2 separate regions of the Homo sapiens genome follow, and region 2 is linked to region 1. The links are contacts of gene promoters, found by promoter capture Hi-C in blood cells and fetal thymus (Javierre and others, 2016). All regions are on one chromosome and are shown on one strand. Each heading gives the region's core, a stretch centred on a gene start or on the middle of the fragment in contact. The rest is flanking DNA. Distances are from core to core; before and after follow the strand shown.

Region 1 (3,170 bases), core at 401-2,900:
GAAATAATGATAGTAATAATAGTGACTAACACTACTGAGCCCTAAGTACCAGGAGGCACTGGGCAGGGATGTGTATGGAGTGTGGTGCCAGGTTGTAGGAGGACTTGAATGCCAGGAAAGGCTTTTGGGAGGGTAAGTTAACAAGCGCAGAGGGGTTGGATCTGCCTGCCGAAGGAGAACTGGGACAAGGAAAGGGGCTGAAGTAAGAAGTCCCACGCTGAATATGCCGGTAGCAACAGATAGTGAGTCCCGAGCTGTGCCTGAGGGAAGGGAATAGAATCTATGGTTTGAAGTTCACCGCCAGCATGGCCAAGCCCTCCTAGGCCACTGTGGGCTCTTGCTTCCAATCAGACATGACTCCACCTCTGGGGCTGCCTCAATTTTTCCTTCTCTGGATTCTTGGGGTTTCTTAGGATTGCGGGAGATAGAATGGGGTCAGGGGAAGCTGCTCCTTGGTTTACAATGGTGGCGCCTCACGCTGCAGAGAGCCCAGTGTTCCTGCGTGGTGGACCTCTCCCCTTCCTAGGAGCAGCTCCAGATTGCTGGAGGCAGACACGGCTGACCGGCTAGCCCAGGAAGCACAATGGCGAGGTCCTTAGCCCCTGACCCCTGAATCTGACCTTCTCTCCAGCTAAAAGCGGAGGGAGAGGCAGGGAGGGCCACTGCCTAAAGCCGGCCCTGAGCTGAGTTTATTAGCTGAGGGAGGGCTGGAGGCGGCTGCATTCCGACTCACAGACTGGAACATTTCTGTGATCCGCTGTAATGCACTGGGGGACACTGGGCACATTGCTGAAGTTTGACTCATAGGGACCGGGAGGGGGAAAGAGGGGGGTTGTGGAGGGAGAGGAATGGGAGGAAGAGAGGAAGAGGAGAGGAGGGAAGGAAGTCCCTTGAGAAATTTCTTTAAAAAAAGAAAACTTTCAAAATCTGCACCACCCCCACACCCTTTTTCTTTTAATAGGAACAGGCTGGACCCTTCCGTTCCCCTCAGCAGGCATGGTGTGTGTGTGGGGGTGCCAGTGGGGGAGGGCTGGGCAGTGATTCAAATCAGATCCTGGAACTTTCCTGAGGCAAGTCGTGCTTATGTGTGTGTGTGTGTGGTGGGGGGTGTCCGTCTGGGATTCCTTGTATGGGACATGGGACACCACGCGTGTCCCACTGTGCCCGCGTGTGGCTGCGTGCTTGTGGGCTGTACGGGTATGTAGTGTGTGCACGGGGGTCCACCCCGAAGCCCCAGTGTGTGCTGTGTAAATGATTCTGCCCCTTGTAAACATGGATGCGTGCTCGTGTACGTTGTGTATGCGAGGGTGCGTGCGCCCAGGTAGCTGGGTTTCCGGGAATTGTGCACGGCTCGGAGCGCCTCGCGGCGGCTGGGGCTCGGAGCCGCGGCCGGCGTTCCGGGTTCGGCGCTGCCTCCCCGGCAGTGCGCCGCGCCCCGCCGCGATCTGGCCGCGCGCGGTGTCTGCGGCCCGCCTGTGCGCCGCGCGGTGCAGTGTCTGCCGGGGTGGTGTGTCCCAGGGCCGCGAGCGCCTGCCCCCTCCCTCCCCTCCCCCTTGGCCCGCTCTCAGACTCAGATAAAGCATTTCCTTCCATTGTCATCCTACCCGGCCGGCCGGGCTGCCAGGGCCCTCCCCCTCCCGGCCCCCTCCCTTCCTCTCGCCGTCTCACAGTCGCTCTGCAGCCTCCGGCGACTGGGGGGATGTGAGGCCGGCGCCCCAGCCCCCCGCCCCGCCATGAGCCCCCCGCTCTGAGGGCCCCGGCCCCTGGATGCACAGCCCCGGCGCTGGTGAGTACTGGGCGGCCGCCCCCCGCCCCGCCCTGCGCGCGGCACCCAGCGTCGCCCGCCCAGGCTCGGCCTCCGGCCCTGGCCCCGGCTCCGGCTCCGGCTCCGGCTCGGGCTCCCGCCAGCCCCGCGGGCCCAGCCCGGCTTGCGCCCCCCGACCGCGCCTGTCCCGCCCGGCTCCGCGGGGCTCTGGCAGGCTCCGGGTCGGAGCTGGTTCCGGGGGCCGGAGGGCTCGGGCCTCCCGCGGGGCGCCCACATCCGCCCGCCCCGGGGCAGCTACAGGCCCAAGGGAGGGAGTTGGAGGCCCCGGCCGCCGGTGTGCGGGCCCCACGTCCCATCACCCCTGTTCCCGGGGAGGACGAGCCGAGGGACCGGGGAGGGAGGGACGGCCGCGGTGGCCCGGCGAGGGGGCGGTGCTCCGGGGCGGAAGGTTTGGAAGCGCGAGGGCAAAGGGCAGGACCCACTGAGTTGGGGCTGGGCTTTGTGGGGCTGGACATCAGCGCCCCCATCCCGTGGAGCCGGGCAGGGCCCTACTCAGATCCTTCGGCGGGGAAAGAGGTCCCTTGGAGGGGTCTCTGGCTGGGAGGTTTCTCTGAGCATTGCCCCCCATCCTTGCTCACCCATCAGGGTGAAGAGACACCTGTGCCCTGGTGAGCTGTGGAGGTCAATGCCGGCAGCGGCGCGGGAAGCGGGGCGCCGCAGGCTGTGTGAGGGGTGGGGGACAGGATGTGCACCCCCCAGGCCTGGGGTCTGTTGGTGTTGGGGAGTGTGAGAGCAGGCGGCAAATTTGGCGGATGGGCTGGGTTCCCACGACCAGAGTTTCTAGGCCTGTGGGCCAGGAGAGAGCCCTCTGGGGCCCGCAGGCCACCCAGTGCCCCACCCCCATTGCTTCCCGCTGTGGCTGCCCGTTTGGGTCTGACCTCCCCAGCCACGGCTGCTCCTCACTCCTTCTCCCCGCTGGCTGTCTTGCGCACCCAAAGGCCTCCCCCTGCATCTGGACACTGGCTGTCTCGCTGCCAACGCTCCCTGCCCACTCCCCTAGGCAACATCTGCCTGAGGCCCAGCTCTGCCTGCCGCTTTCTAGGGTGAGAATGGGGCATCGGCCCTCAGCGGCCCTGCTGGGAGCTCAAGATCAACTTCTCAGCCTGTTCCCTGGACTTGCATCTGGACCTGTGGGACCTTCCTCAGGACCCCTATTCAGCTATAGGGCTGGCAGGAGACTGTGACTCAGGTCCCTGCCCTCCAATGAGACGCTTTGGCGGCCCTTTCCCCCTCCCAGGACTCCATAGGCTGCTAGGCTGCCGCTACCCATGGGTTATTAAGTCATTTTCTTCTTCTCTGCAGTCATTTCTGAGGGAAACTAAGGCACAGAGTAGTCCCAGTGAGT
Region 2 (3,250 bases), core at 19-2,518, 1.8 Mb after region 1:
AATAAATGCATTATTTTTTCGTTTTAAAAGAAAAATTAATTTCTACATATCACCACCTACCTCAGCAGCAGAATATCAGGGCAGTACATTTTAAAATAACGGTTGGTTTTTGTATTTTATTAGTAATTGTATTAAAATTTTGACATGTAATCAAGTCTGTTTCTAAACAATTGCTTTCTCTTTCCTGTTTCTTTGGCAGTTGGCTTGATCATGTCACTATTTTGGTTAAAAGATGCAAGAAAAAGTTCATGGGCCTTTTGTTTTTGTTGTTTTAACTAAGCAAGAGAAATGAAATCTTGAAACTGTCTTTGGATTTCTTTTGTTTTATATTATCCTATCGGATAATCTGAATTTATATTTTTTATGCAATGTGAGTTTTTTAAAAACAGTTCTTAGGGTAGCTGCATTTTAGCTATAATATTTTTTGGTGCTTGCAGATATTTTAACAGTCATTCAGTTTTTCACATTCAGATAGTGAACTTTTTGCCTGAGAGTTTGAGTACATTTTAAGATTTCACTGGGGTAAAATTTGAATGTTTGCTTACTGTAAGTATACTCATGCTTTAAAGACATTCTTCAGTATAAAGGGGAAGAAAACTGTAGAAGAAAATTTAAAGTTTCTAAATATGTTGCCAGAAAACATGTCATGGAGAAAATTTTACGGATAATTTTTTAATTTTTTCTGTTAATACCTTCATGTGGTAATAGGGCTAGTGTGTTAAGATCGAAACTTTTCAGGAGTTACTTAGCTCTCTATCGTCCTTTGGCACCAACTAGAGCTTAGACAGTTTTCTGGAAAACCTGTGCTTTTATTCAGCAGAGATAGGATGAATCAGTGCAGTTACATGATACTGTTGATTCATCATCAGTAACATCTTTTAGTAATCAGAAAATACAGTACTATACTACCCATCAACTTAATACTGAACTTTTAAAGTATATCAGAGATAGTTGTAGCACCTTAATTAAAGAGAGTAGCAGGCATAAAAGTAATAAAAAGAAAGTCAACTGTAGAATAATTTTCATTGTAACTTCCCTTTAGCAAGCCCTGCTATCACCTGCTTTTGTCTTTTAAGATGTAAATTGTACCTTGACTTACCTTGCCCAGTGAAATAAACTTAAAATCCAGATTTTTAATTATACTCTGTCCCCCAAAATAAGTTAATAACCTTGCACCTTGTCTTGCTTCTGAGCAGTAATAACTGTTAGTAGTGCTGAGTAGAGCCCAGAGTTAAAATATCCAGTATCATTCTCTTGCTATTCCCAAAACTCATCTTTGCATTGTATTTTTTTAAGTTGTGTCTATGAACTTAATGTATGAAATCCTAGTACATAGACACATAAAAATTCAATACATAACGTAAAAACACAACCACTATTTTGCTTTCAAAAATATCTTCCTAAAAAGTCACTGTGACCTTTGCTGATCTACAGTCTTTAACACTCCATAGCCAGAGTGATCCTGATAAAATGTCAGGTCATGTAACTTCTTTTCTCAAATGGCTTCCCTTCTCAGTCATAGTAAATTCCATACTCCTATGGTCTACAAGGCTCTATGATTTAAGTCTCTTCTTCCTCTCTGACTTCATCTCCTCACCCTTTCTCCAATCTCCTTTCCCCTACGCTGTTGTGGTCTTCTCTAACTACTGTGTATAAAACAACAGCCTTCCCCCGATATTTTGTATCTGTTTTTATGCTAGATTTTTCTCCATTGCATTTATCATTTTGCAACATATTGTGTAATCTAACTTAGGTTTATTGTTTATTTTCTTCACTGTGATTTATCTTCTGTGAGATCAGCATTTGTCAGTATTTGTCACCTAAACACCTGAACAATGCCTTCAGTGTAAGTTAATGAATTAACCTGCTTTCAGCTGTAAACGTTACAAATAGTGATTGTGGTTTGAAACTTTAGACTAAGCAAGTCTCAGTCTGTAGCATAAACTGCCAAGTTACTTATATCCATGCATGTGGGCCATGTTCATTTCAGGGGTCCTTGTTTTTTGTTGTTGTTTGTTTTGTTTTTGCTTTCAGATAGCATCTCGCTGTCTCCCAGGCTGGAGCGCAGTGGTGTGATCACAGCTCTCACTTTGGTGCCCAGGCTGGTCTCAAATTCCTGGGCTAAGTAATCATCCCGCCTTGGCCTCCCAAAGTGCTGGGATTACAGGAATGAACCACCACACCCAGCCTAAGGGGTCTGTGTTTTTAGAGGAGTATAACAGTATGTGACCTTGAAACTATCATTTGTCTTAATATAGAAGGAGCTAAGAATGCCTCAGCTAAGAGTAGAGCAGTGCATTAGCCTGATTTCATGCTGCTGACATACCTGAGACTGGGAAGAAAAAGAGGTATAATTGGACTTACAGTTCCACATGGCTAGGGAGGCCTCAGAATCTTGGTGGGAGGAGAAGGGCACTTCTTACATAGTGGTTGGTGGCAAGAGAAAATGAGGAAGATGCAAAAGCGGAAACATCTGTTAAAACCATCAGATCTTGTGAGACTTGTTCACTACCATGAGAACAGTATGGGGGAAACTGCCCCCATGATTCAAATTATCTCCCAACAGGTTGCTCCCACAACACGTGGGAATTATGGGAATACAATTCAAGAGAGATTTGGGTGGGGACACAGCCAAACCATATCAAGCAGTATAACTATCTTATTGTTAAAAATGTTGTCATTTAGAAGCCATATTAATTTCTTATAGTTCCAGAAGGCAAAACTAGGATTGTGGTGATGTGTATTGAAAGGGAGGAGAGAGGCAGCAAGAGATCTGGGAGAATTAGTTAGCAGGCTTTTTTAGTAGTCTGGGAGAGATGAGGATAGCTTGAATTAGGATGATAATTGTGGAGATGGGCTCAGTGGATGGGATTTGAGACCAGCAGGCCTTAGTTAATAGATTGAAAGTGAGGGAGAAAGAAATTTGAAAGATGATTTCTGGATTACATTCCTGGGTTGTGCCAGATAAGGACCAGAGCTCTTTTGGTTTTAACATATCAGGCTTAAAGTACCTTTGGAGCTTTCAGGTAGAAGTTCCTGTAAGCAATTAGATACATGGTTCTGAAATTCAGAGGAAGAGTATTGGCTGTAAATGGAAAACTGGAATCTCCCATACAGGTAATTGGAACTATAGGTATGGATGAAATTGCCTAGGTGAGGGAATATAACTTGGGGGAAAAAAGGCCTAGGATGGAACCACAATGACCTCTAACATTTAAAAAACTTTGCTGGAAGAATGTGAGCTCCCAGA

What was found. Contacts are between HindIII fragments. The CHiCAGO score rates a contact against its expected background, and 5 or more counts as called.
Region 2: a fragment that was not itself captured here is called in contact with the fragment with the promoter of HDAC7 in region 1 in 1 of 17 cell types (neutrophils); the score reaches 5.6 in neutrophils.

Annotation. Positions count from the first base shown.
Region 1 is chr12:47,818,383-47,821,552 of GRCh38, reverse strand. It overlaps HDAC7 (histone deacetylase 7), which reads left to right and starts at 1,650. Exons shown (of 26, transcript NM_015401.5): 1 at 1,650-1,786. The coding sequence starts at 1,768. RefSeq lists enhancers at 1-809, 2,148-2,721 and silencers at 1,360-1,699, 1,840-1,919, 1,930-2,239. The HindIII fragment of the contact is 23,145 bases long and covers 1-3,170 here.
Region 2 is chr12:45,986,018-45,989,267 of GRCh38, reverse strand. The region is part of intron 1 of SCAF11 (SR-related CTD associated factor 11); the gene reads left to right. Among named protein-coding and RNA genes, the nearest start is that of SCAF11, 2.9 kb to the left of the region's middle. RefSeq lists a silencer at 2,516-2,565. The HindIII fragment of the contact is 7,512 bases long and covers 1-3,250 here.